2 separate regions of the Homo sapiens genome follow, and region 1 is linked to region 2. The links are contacts of gene promoters, found by promoter capture Hi-C in human tissues and cell types (Jung and others, 2019). All regions are on one chromosome and are shown on one strand. Each heading gives the region's core, a stretch centred on a gene start or on the middle of the fragment in contact. The rest is flanking DNA. Distances are from core to core; before and after follow the strand shown.

The links. The method cuts DNA at HindIII sites, captures the fragments that hold promoters and counts their contacts. A contact is called where the count stands out against the background at its distance.
Region 1: a contact is called between a fragment that was not itself captured here and the fragment with the promoter of GRHL2 in region 2, in 2 of the 25 tissues and cell types used here (heart right ventricle and lymphoblastoid cells).

What each region holds. Positions count from the first base shown.
Region 1 is chr8:102,112,719-102,118,567 of GRCh38, forward strand. It overlaps a transcript of NCALD not described here. Among named protein-coding and RNA genes, the nearest start is that of MIR5680, 9.8 kb to the right of the region's middle. RefSeq lists an enhancer at 1-268. The HindIII fragment of the contact is 4,908 bases long and covers 1,920-5,849 here.
Region 2 is chr8:101,488,833-101,495,568 of GRCh38, forward strand. It overlaps GRHL2 (grainyhead like transcription factor 2), which reads left to right and starts at 3,607. Exons shown (of 16, transcript NM_024915.4): 1 at 3,607-3,957. The coding sequence starts at 3,938. GRHL2-DT (GRHL2 divergent transcript) reads right to left here and starts at 3,873. Exons shown (of 2, transcript NR_186782.1): 1 at 3,618-3,873. RefSeq lists an enhancer at 3,625-4,153. The HindIII fragment of the contact is 12,677 bases long and covers 1-6,736 here.

The DNA of each region.
Region 1 (5,849 bases), core at 3,124-5,623, 620 kb after region 2:
GGTCGTGGGGGTGGGTGCCTCATGAATAGATTAATGCCCTCCCTGGGTGGAGGAGGGAGGTAAGTGAGTTCTCACTCTATTAGTTCAGTGGAGAGCTGATTATTAAGAGCCTGGCACCTCCCCCTCCCCTTGCTTCCTCTCTGGCCATGTGATCTCTGCACGTGCCAGCTCCTCTTCACTTTCCATCATGAATGGAAGCAGCCTGAGGCTCTCACCAGATGCCCAATCTTGAATTTTTACAGACATCAGAATTATAAGCCAAATAAACCTTTTTTCTTTATAAATTACCCAGTCTCACTTATTCCATTATAGCAACGCAAAATGGACCAAGACAGAAGCTATGAATGCCCTTCAAACAATGGAAACAGAAAAAAATAAACCAATTAAGTGGTCTAGGAGAGAAAAGGAAAGGTATAGACAGACCTAAAAATAGTTTCCACCTTATCTCTGTTTCAGTAATAGCAGATTAGCACATATTCTCTTGGAAATGTCACCCAGGCAACCAGAAATACAAAGACAAAGATGTTCCAAAAAACACATGTATATAAATCTATTTTTGCCATCTTTAAGCATAAATGATCACTATAGCAAGAAAGACAATAATTAGGAGATTATCTTTTTTAAAAGCAGGCACAGAAGAAAGTTTATAAATAGGTACCTAGTGTAAAGCAGGGTAACAAAGTGTAAAAGTAGGTCTCTATCTGATAAGAGGCCCTGGCCCATTGCCTCAAATTCAGGCCAAGAATCTATTAGAAGTGTTAAACATATTTTTGCCTATGTTTTTCAAATCTCATGTTTTTATTTCATAAACCAAAGGCAGACGAATACAAAATATGGTAGGCCGGCAAATTTTAAAAATGTATTTTGAAAACTGCCTTAAGTCCCACTTAAGTAGAATAACTATGTTTCTTTACCTGGATTGCCTAGGACAGTCCCCATTTGTGCCTGCTGTTTTGCTGTAATTACTGGAAAGTCCTCCCCTTTCACTCTCAAAAATGTCCCAATGTGAACAATAAATTATGTAGTCGTCTTATATTTAGCCAAGAAACATTTCTTGGCCAGTTATGATGTGCTACCTACTGGGTTGGGCACTTATATTAGTTTTTTAAAAGGTATGTAAGATAAGAACAATTTCAGAACAATCTACTTGAAAAGACAGAAATAGCACCCCAAACAACCGTGAATCAGTGAAAACTTGATAATCATTGGTGTAGTCTAGGCTGTCAGTGCCTTAGTTCAGATCAGAGAAGAGTAGCGAGTGTATCCCCTCAAGGGGGTCACTCCGTAGAACTAATGCTAAAAGCAGCAATGCTTCTCGAGCACTTCCTGTGTGCCAGGCACTATGACAAGCATGATGCCCACGTGATCTCGCTTCATGCTCAAAACAGCCCTGTAAGTGAAGGGCTGTCATTCGCTCATTTTATGGATGAGATGACTTCCCCAAAGTCAGGCCAGAGAATTCAAATGTCTAGCTCTCAAACATACGTTCTCCACCACTGTAGATGTGGAGGTACTGCCTTCTGATCACCCATCCCTACCAGGAGCTGGCCCAGCAGAGTCACGTGTTATCACAGCCATCAGCTTCTCTCTTTCTGCCCTGCAGCAGAGCAAGCTGTGGCCAAACTCTGTCCAAGGGTTACCAAATCAGTTAAAGCCCAACCAGAAAACTAAAGAGGCTGCTCTTGAATCCTACAGAGGAGTCCTACTGAAGAGGCTATTGAGAAGAAAGTCATACAGGGGTTCAGGAAAGCAATGAAGGATGATGCAGGACTCTAAGGCTAGTAATAGCAGGAAGCCATGACCACCCTAGGCCTGAAGGCATGAGGGGAGGAAGTGGCTGAAGGAACCCAAAGAGGGTGGCGATATGGAGAGGATAGCTGCAGGCGCTGTGGTCTTTAGCACACACACACCAAGCTGCAGCTTGCAACCCAGTGGAGGGACAGGGGAATAAATACCCTACCTCACTCTCCTCCCACCCTCCCGTCTCCTGCTGATTTCTGGCCAAATTATACCAGAAGTCAGAAGAAAAGATGGCCATTGACGCCAGTGGTAAAGATCACCTCTTGGGGCACAGAGCCAGGTGGAGAAGGGAGCCAGGGATGTGGAAGGGCCAACAGGAGATATCCAGGCCTCTTACTGCCCTTGCCCTACAGAAGAGCTGTGCTCCAACCAAGGCAGAGGAAACTGGCCTGGTCACTCTTTGGGAGTTAAGGTGCCAGGTAGGTAAAAGGACACCATCCTCAGCATATGCACAAAGCCAGGGCCAGTTTCATGAGCATGTGACCTGTGCCATCACACAGGCCCCATACTCAGCAGGGCCCCATGCTGGCATTAATCCTCCACTAGCACCATCTTCAAATTCTTAATTTTTTTAAACAAAGTTCCCACACTTTCATTTTGTTGTGAGCCCCACAAACTGTGTAGTTGGTCCCCTGCAAGGCAAACCTTTTCTTCAGGTAGTGAGACTAAATTCTGTAAGTATCACAGTATTCCGATACACTGTTAAAGCAAAAGGATCCAAAGTTAATATTAACCAGAGTAACAATGATACAGTAGGATAGGTAAGATGGTAACATGAAGGGGCACTTTACCTTTTTTTCTTTCCTTCCTCTCTTTTAAAGTCAAACTGTAAAGCAGCTGAGAAACCAAAATTAGCTGCCCCCTAGAGAGAAACTGACCTTAATTACACCTGCTACTCCATAGCACAGACTGAATGGATTTTGGCTCTTCCCCAGTTAATGCGATCAATGCAGACAATAAAACAGAATAATTGATGCCCTGGAGTGGACTTTTCTGATACACCTCATTTGATGGACTACAGTCATCGAATTCTCCAGGCCATTGCCAAAGCTACTCTTTACCTTGCCTTATGTGCCCGATGTACACAGGCCCTACTTTGGGGCTCACTGTTGAAAATACATAAATAAAAGACGTGCGGATGGGTCAATGGCATTCACAAACAATATTTGTAGTGGATGCTTCCTGAAGCATGGGCTTAGAAACTTGAGTCTCTGCTGCTTCTGCTTCCCTTTCCTGAAAGACTCCAGCATCCTTAGCCTTCCTCTGAGAAATTATATTTCTAAAAGCATCTGGGAAAGCCCCAGGTGAGAAGCCTGAACAGGACCAGTGGCAGCTCTTTTTCCCATTCATTTCCTTCAATGCCATCCAGCAAAGCAAAGCCCAGAAAACGTTTAGCTGAGACAGGGATCAAACTGGCTTCTGACAGCCTCTTTCACACCCCTTTATTTCAGAAGTAAAGGACGGTAGATTTTAAGTGTTTGTTTATTTTGTTGTTTAAAGTTAGAATAAAGTTGCAAATGATCAAATCAAAAGCATTTAGAAAACCTCTACTGTGTCAGAAGGGGAACATCACACACCGGGGCCTGTCGTAGGGTGGGGGGAGGCGGGAGGGATAGCATTAGGAGATATACCTAATGTAAATGATGAGTTAATGGGTGCAGCACAGCAACATGGCACATGTATACATATGTAACAAACCTGCACGTTGTGCACATGTACCCTAGAACTTAAAGTATAATAAACAAAAACAAAAACAAAAACAAACAAAAACAAAAACCTCTACTGTGTGTCAAGGAACCTAGAATCCAGACAGTAAATCAAATCTAGGGGCACCGTAACAGAGTCAGAGAATCCATAGTTGCCGTGTATCCTAACTACTGAGCTCTGTCATGGATTGAATGGTGGTGACCCCCAAAAAAAGTATGTCCAAGTGTCCAAGACTTTTTTGGGTTTCTTTTGTAGGGTGGTGGTGTTGTTGTTTTGAGACAAGGTATCGCTCTGTCACCCAGGCTGGAGTGCAGTGGGGTCAACATGGCTCACTGCCGCCTCCACCTCCCGGGCCCAAGAGATTCTCCTACCTCAGCCTCCCGAGTAGCTGGAACCACGGGTGCATGCCAAGAGGCCTAATTTTTTTTCTTTTACTTATTTTTATCTATTTATTTATTTTTTGGTAGAGATGGGGTCTCACCTTGTTGGCCAGGCTGTTTTTGAACTCCTGGGCTCAAGCAATCCTCCTGCCTCGACCTCCCAAAGTGCTGGGATTACAGACATGAGCCACTGGGCCTGGCCATAACCAAGCTTTAACCCCCGGAACCAGTGAATATGACCTTATTTGGAAAAAGGGTCTTTGCAGATGTCATAAAGGATCTTGAAATAAAATCATTCTGGATCACGCAGCTGGGTTCTAAATCCAGTGACAAATGTCTTTATAAAAGATGCGCAGAGGAGAGACACACAGAGAAGAGCAGGAAGCAATGTGACGTGCAGCGCAGCTCTAGTGATGCAACCTCATGCCCAAGAATGCTGCAGCTACCAGAAGCTAAAAGAGGCAAAGGATGAAGTCGCCCCTAGAATCCCTGGAGGAAGCACGGCATTTCGGCCTCAGACTTCTAGCCTCCGGAGCCGTGAGAGGATAAATATCTGTTGCATTCAACCACCATTTTGTGGTCATTTGTTTCAGCGGCCACAGGAAACAAATATAAGCTTACAGCCCCATCTCTCACCTGTGGCCTCAGCTTCACAATCTCCGGCCAGGGACTATATGAAGCCTTCCAAAGCAGCCCATTCCGTGTTCACAGTAGGCCTAGTTCTGGCCCCAGATGAGTCTAATCCCTTTCCCTCAGTACAGTGCTTTCATGTATGTGAAGAAAAGAATATAAAAGTCCCACAGAGCGATTCCAGGCCAGAGAGTCCCAGCTACTGTCCTCGGCATCCGCCAGCTCATGAGAAATCCCCTTAACTTGTACCAGTCAGGGCAGCACAGAGGGAACGATCCTCTCCCTTCCTTTGAACAGTATTCTCTTATTGCAGCCCAAGGTCTCACTAATGTTTAAACAGCCAGGTGACACTGTCAACTCCGTTGGCACTTTCAACTCAAAAAAAAAAAAAACGCAACTTACATCTTTTTCATGTGTAGCAAATGTGATTCAAGGACATGTTGTCACTCCCATCAAGTATATGGAAAATATTCTTTTTATCTAAACACAATGAATCAAGTATGAAATATGCCTGCAAAGTACATTATTTTTGTAAAAAGTGGGGGATCTGAGCAGGCACCCACACCACCTATTGACAGCCAAGCCAAGTTTGTACACATCAGATTATTTCCAAAGAACCAAAACACACAGGTTGGGGAAAACGTAACCTTCCAGATCCAGCTGCATATACAGAAGAAATGTGCTGATGATCTCTGATTATTTGTCAGTCTTCAGATTTCAGCTCCATAACCTGCACTAGCTCCCAATGTTGGTAAATCATTCAACCTCTCAATGCCTCGGTTCACTTACCTGTAAATTGGGGATAATTAGAACACTACTTTGTGTTGGCTACTATGGACTACAAGATAGTCCCACATCAACAGGCCTTCTTGCTGTCTGGCTGTGGCTAGTTTGGCCAATTGGGAGGCACCAGCACCAGATCAGAGAGTGGAAGAGAGTGGCTGGGGCCTTTATCCACCTGGATGCCTCCCCACCAGGCCACAATGGGCAGTAGTCATATTCCTCTACTGAAAACCACAGCTCCAGCCAGCAGCCCTGTCCCCTGAACAACTCCAGAAACTGCTCTCTCACCTCATGCTGTCAGGGCTGGGTAGTGAAGGCTTGCATGCACTGCTGGCCACTTCTGGTGGGTTCCCTGATCTTACCCGCACCTTTGTAAATAGTCCCTTCATTAACTTTCCTCAGTTACTGCCTTCTGAGCAGTTCATCCGCCTCCTTATGGGATGCTGGAGGAGGAATCTTTCATAGGATTTAGCAGAATTAATCAATACTTGAATCGCCTTTAGGCATTTGCTAGCATGAGTGCTATTATTAGCAACAGTAGTCTACTTC
Region 2 (6,736 bases), core at 2,357-4,856:
GAGATTATAAGATATTTCTCATGAGAAACTGACAAGCCCCAAAGAAAAGACATCTAGCTTCTGACATTTGAGGTATCTTCCCATGAAAAAATGAGCTTTCATCTGATCACCATACAGCAAACCCACCAGTGAGCAAGCACATTTTTCTCACCCACATATAGAGTTTCTGGTGAGGTTTCTATTACCTCATTCCTACTTATGAAAGGAGAGGAAAAGGTTTGCAGACAGTTGATGAAAGCCTCTAACGTGATGGGACGAAAACAAATACATGAGAAGGGAAGCTAGAGAAAGCCAAGACAAGGCAGGAGGCAAAGAAAGCCCTACAGTAAGTAAATACTCTCAAAAGATAGAAAAAACTAGTGCGACTGTGACATAATCACTAAATTCTCTTTATAACAGACAGCATGAAATGAGCTCTTTAAATAGTTGAGGTAACAACTGCAGTAGAAAGTAAAGCAAGAAAATATCTTCCAAAATAGGACAAAAGGTGAAGACATGTGCAACAGGAAAAAAAAAAAAAAAAAGAACATTCTGAGATTAATCCAGTTTAAAAAATAAATAATAAGATTGAATAATAATTGAGAATTTAATAAGTGCCTGGTAATGTTCTAAGTGGTTCAGACATATTAGTGAGATAATTACTATTATAATCTCCATTTTATAGATGAGGAAACTGAAGCACAGCAAAATTAAGTGACATTCTCAATAGTAACACTGGAAGCTAGAAGATAAAAGAGCAATTTTTGCCTGTAATCCCAGCTACCTGGGAAGTTGAGTCAGGAGGATCACTTGAGTCCAGGATTTTGAGGCTGCAGAGAGCTATGACCATGTCACTGCACTCCAGGTGGTGTGACAGAGTAAGAACTTGTTTTTAAAAATTTAATTAATTAATTTTTTTAGAGACAAGGTTTTGCTCTGTAGCCCAGGCTGGAGTGCAGTGTCATGATCTTGACTCACTGCAGCCTTGACCTCCCTGGGGTCAGGCAATCTCCTCTCCTCAGCCCCCTGAGTAGCCGGGACTACAGGTGCACACCAGTATGCCTGGTTAATTTTTGTATTTTTTGTAGAGATGGGGTCTAGCTACATTGCCCATGCTGATCTTGAACTCCTGGACTCAAGTGATCCTCCTGCCTTGGCCTCCCAAAGTGCTGGGATTACAGGTGCAAGCCACTGTGCATGGCCTAAAAATTTTTTTTAATTAAAAAATTAAAATAAATAAGTGAAAAGCAATTTCTATAAAATTATGAATGAAGAAATTCTGGTAAGAATTCTACACTTGGTCAAACTCTAGTAAAAGTAAAAGTTGAATAAAGACATATTCAAGTATGTAATAACTCAAATTTTTACCTTCTGTACCCTTTCTTGGGCTGTTACTAAAACATGTGCCATGGAAAATGAAGCAGTAAACCAAGAAAGAAGGCACAAAACACAGAAATGGGGGTTCTCACACTACAGATTAAGGAGTGTCCCAGGCCGGGCACGGTGGCTCACACCTGTAATCCCAGCACTTTGGGAGGCTGAGGCAGGTGGATCACCTGAGGTTGGGAGTTCTAGACCAGCCTGACCAACATGGAGAAACCCCGTCTCTACTAAAAATACAAAATTAGCTGGACTTGGTGGTGCATGCCTGTAATCCCAGCTACTTGGGAGGCTGAGGCAGGAGAATCACTTGAACCCGGGAGGCAGAGGTTGTAGTGAGCTGAGATCACACCGTTGCACACTAGCCTGGGCAACAGAGAGAGACTCTGTCAAAAAAAAAAAAAAAAAAAAAAAAAGAGTGTCCCAGGATGACACTTGAGAAGCGGATCCATAGAGCAACTCATCTCCACTGAAACAGTAGAACAATGAATTTCTGGAGGAATTGTTTTCAGGGCAAAATTGGAATTGATTGTTTGATCATTTGGAAAATAAACATGATAGTCATTTGATAGATCAGTTGTAGAAAAATATCAGGATGGGGCATAACAAACTAAGTAAATAGATACAAGGTTTTATAAGGAAGAAAACAAGAATAGTACACTATTGGCTGTGTTGTCATTGCTATTGGCATAGTCACTTACTTAGCTCCTAAACTGTGAAAGTGCTGTGTTGGAAGGAGAAGTTGCTTGGCATGAAAGAGCTAAATCCTAATCTGAAGCAACAGGTAGTCAGAGCACAACATCTATTGGCAAATCAAGAGATGGCAGTACAAATTATTTAGAAATAGGGAGGTAAATGACAGAAGAGACAGATAAAAGCAGAATATGGCTGCCTCTAAAAAGGAGAGGAACATGATAGGTATTGCATTATCTTAAAATATTATATTAAAATAGTACCTGCATTGTCTTAAAATATATTATTTCTTTAAAGTGTGTGTTTATATTGTTTTTTAAAAATACAATTTTGAAATTTATTGTTGAAAATGGACACATGGAACAAACCAAACCTTGTTTTATCATGTAATTTTCAGAAAATATGTGATCCATAAAGATTAAAAGAAAGTTGTATTAAGTCTGGCAGCTTTAGTATTAACTTGAAATAAAATATGGCAAGCTTTCCACGTCCTCCTTTATTTCCACAATCCATATGTACGAGCTAGATTCCAGTCAGAACTTCCACAAATACTTCACTCTTTGGTAGCAGCGGTTATAAATTACGCCTTTGCTAATTTGCGTTGTTCCCAACCAGGAGAAACATTACCACAAAAAAAGTCAGTTTCATCCTGCAGTGTTCCCGCAGCAACCATATTAAGCTGGAAGAATAAAGCTCCTTTGTAGTAGTAGCGTCTATTGAATTACAATGTAAATGTTGATGCCTGCCTGGAAACGTCAAATGACAACAGGTTTACAGAACGAATTCAGTGGTTGTTTGCAGCTCTGGAATCCCAGGCTGCAGAGTTGAGATCGAAGAGGTGCGTCTGGCCATCTTAGCGTTCATTCAACCAAATCTCCTCACTCCATCAAAACCACGCCACTCCCCACCTGCCCAGCTCGTAAAAGGATGCTCACCTGTTTGAAAATCTGTAATATATCTGATGTCTTTTACACAGCAGGACACGAAAAAGTGTTTGTTGTGGATAAGAGTGTTAAAAATTCAATTACGCAACAGACCAAACTTTGTGCTTCTTTCCCCCTCTCAGCACAAAGTAACTTTAGTCCCGTCCTCTTCTGCCACTGTCAAACAGCCCTGTTACTGTGGGCATTAAATGCCTTGTGGCGTACTGCGCATTTGATTCTGGTTGACTTGGGATACCTGAGCTCGGCTCTCATTAGCTCTTCCGCTCGACCCACAATCCCTAGTGTTTGCAGGTGTTGCATTCCCCCAACCCCTTTCTTCTCTTCAACCAGTAGCCTCCACCTTCCCATCCCTGCTTTGGAGAAGGAGGAAAACGCAGCTTGAGATCTACTCGAAGAACTGACCCTCAGCTCTCACAGGCTGCCGCCGAGCTGCAAGCATGCCGCCGCTCCACTCGGGTAAACTTCGGAGTGAGTTACCTGCACTCGGAGAAGGGCCTTACCTGAGCGCGCCTCTGCCAATGGCAGCTCACCTGAGGGAGCTCCCCAGCCAATCATCGCGCAGCTCGTCCCTCGGGCTTGTACCCTTTAGTGAAAGAATTCAGCTCCTTGCGAGAAAGTTACCTGTGGCCGCCCAAGTCCGCCACTTTCTGCTCTGTGTCTGCCCATTGCCACGATCCAGGAGGACTCCGCGCCGCCCGGCCGCCTCCGAGCTCGGGCCCCATGTGAGGGGCCCCCCCTTATCCCACCTTTCCGGCTAGGTGAGGGCGCGAGCGGGCGAGCGAGCGAGAGTGGTGAGGGGGGACGGAAAAGCAGAATTACCTGTAGCTCTTGTTCTGCCATCTCGGGCGCTCTCACACACCTTCACCTGCACAGACTTGAAAGTCCAGTTTCACCAGAGGCTGAGGCTCCAGGAAAAGCGGAGCAAGTTCATTGGATCAAACATGTCACAAGAGTCGGACAAGTAAGTGGATCACACGCGCCGGCTGCTGCTACTACTACCACTTTGGGCTGATGGCAACTGGTTTGTTATGTTTTTGTTTTTAAGTTGCTATTGTTGGTATTTTTCTTTCTTTTTTCTTTTTCTTTTTGGTGGATCCAGACTTTTCCGCATTATGTTTCTACCCTGATTAAGGGGAGAAACCCTACAACAATGTGAATATTTAATATCCCCTTTGGGCCTTGATAGTAAAAGTGGGTTTTCCTTTTCCTTCTTCCCTTAGGAATGGTCTCAGCTCCCGCTCCTGGATGAATACTTGGATATTGCCAGAGGTTTTGGTAGATGGGCGCGGGAGGCCTGCTCTTCCCTCTCTGTTTTAGCTGCTCCCACCGATCTGGCGTTTAGGGCCATTTGGAAGTTCAGCTGAGTTCCTTCGATTTGTCCAAAGGGCCTACTGGAAAAGTGGGGCTTGGCCGCTTTTGTGTGACCGCAACAAAGAGCTTTTATATGAGGCAGAAACGGCCATCTTCTCGCACCGGGCAGGAGGGTGGGCGTGAGTGCGCGCCCGCGTGTGGCCCCGATGGGAGGCGAGGCGCTGGGAGGCCGGGGGGCGCGGGGGCGGCCGGCGCCGTCCCCCACTCCCTCGACATCCCGCCTTCCTCCCCCCTCCCCCGCCTCCCTCCCCCGGGTCCGCCCCCGCATTGTTTGGCCACCTTCCTCAGGTGCCCGGGGGGAAAGGACGGTTCGCGAACTGGGGGAACTCATGTGAGGCCTCGAGTTAGGGCCTCGGCGGGGCGCGAAGGGGCGCCTGCCACTGAGCGATTCACCCGCGCCCCCGACGGCGTCTGCACGCCCCTCGAGCTCGCGGCCCTCCACGCAGTTGGCCGCCACCTCGGACGCGGCAGGCGGGACTGCGTGGGGCGCGCCGAGCCTTCTCGGGGTGCTCTCGCCGTCAAGGCCGAGGGCTCGGGGCGGCGGGAACGCTGGGCTCGCGTCCTTCCCGTCCCGGACAGGCACTCCAGACGCGTCGGGGAGCCACAGCCTGCGCGGCCGGAGCCGCCCGCGGGTCACTGGGCCCGGTCCGGCCGCGTCCTGACGGCCTCCCCCCTGGCCGGCCCCCGCCCTCGGAAGGCTTTGTGCGAGCCGGGGGAGGTGGGGCCTGGGCGGGCGCGGGAGGGAGCCGGAGGTGGGTCCCGCGGCCTTTCTCGGGATTCGGCGGGGACACTCCCTTCCCCCTCCTCTCGGGCGCGTCCGGGCCTGGGAACTGGCTGCGTCCTATTGGAAGTGCGCGGGGCCGCCCTTTTGCTTTCCCCGGTAACTTTGCCGTGGCGTTGCGGCCACCCCGAGGGGACCTTCCTGAAGGTGTCTCGCCGGAGAGGGCCGGTGCCCCAAGGCCGCGGGCCGCTGGGCCTGTCATGGAGAAGTGGCGGGGACCCGTCCCAAGTTGAGGGACCACGAGGGAGGAGTGGGAAGGCCCTGCGGACCTGTTCAGGGGTGGAGGGGAAGGACTAGCCTCAACATAAAGCCGCTGGCAGGTTAGGCGAACCTAAGAAAATGCGCTGTCATACTTAAAAAGCAAAAAACTGCCAGATAGTTGTACCCCGTTAGCCACCGATGAGGAATTAACCGAGTACAGCATACCGGAGGGGAAGAACTAGCGTTACCAACACGGGAGCGGGTCAGAGGCAGGGTAGGAAGAGGAGAGTGTGTGGTTGTCTGAGAACACCCCCAGCTCCTCCCCATATCTCTCTAGTCTTCAAGGAAACACGACTCGAGTTTGAAATTTTCAGTAGCCAAATCCGGAGGCGACAGCAAGTTTTTGGGGTTTGTTTTGATCTTTGCCTGCGTCAAAGATGATTGCAAATCTAATTTAATTAATCGCGCAATTAACATTTAGTTTGCTTAGTTTTGTGATACAACAGAACTCGAATTCTGAATGAAAACGGGTCGGTCTTTATTTTCACCAGTTATACTTAGCAGCAATAAGAACAATGTGTTTACCATCAGAAATAAGTACTGAGCGCCCGCAATCTGGTTTCACCACACGCATCACCTGGTTTTTACAGGTGATAAGTATCTGGGATTACATATGCTTGCATTTAATGAACGTTGCTTTTATCTAGTCGTGGTTTCCAAGACGAAATTTTGTATCCTGGGAAAAGTAATCGTTACAATGGTGCAAGGAGATAATTCAACTGGTTTGTTTCTCTCTCATTGGGCTGTTGAAAATGCTTTAAGTCAATACATGACTTCTGGATCATTTTTGCGAATTCTAGCCTCGTTTTCTTAATATTCTAAGGGAGCCCCGGCAGGGGTGGGTCTGAAGCTTATGCAACTATGTGTGTGACATGGGGTGGGGACTGTAAGTAAACGGGCCCCTGGGTACAGCGTGGGGCTTCCTTCCTGAGCAAGTGAGAGGCTTCATCAGCCTCATGGAAAATCCACCTTACGAGGCCTGCCTGTAGTTTCTGGAAATAACATGAACGAACACACACTGGATGTTCTTTCATAATCCCATTGAGATTTAGGCAATCTTTGGGATTGCACAGGAAGATATTTCTGGTTAACAAGTCTGGACTGAAGTAGCATCGTCTTTTTTATGGTGTGGACTTTTCAGATTGAAACGTTCTGCTTTTGATGTTCTGCAGTGTTGATGCTATCGCCAATTAAAACAAAGTATTTTTAGGACATTTTGTCTTTGTACATATTTTAAAATTCTCTACTCCATCTTAAATTTTATGAAGATTTAAGATCTTTGTCAGCAAGCATGTGTACAAGTGAAGCAATGCTAGATTAAGAAACT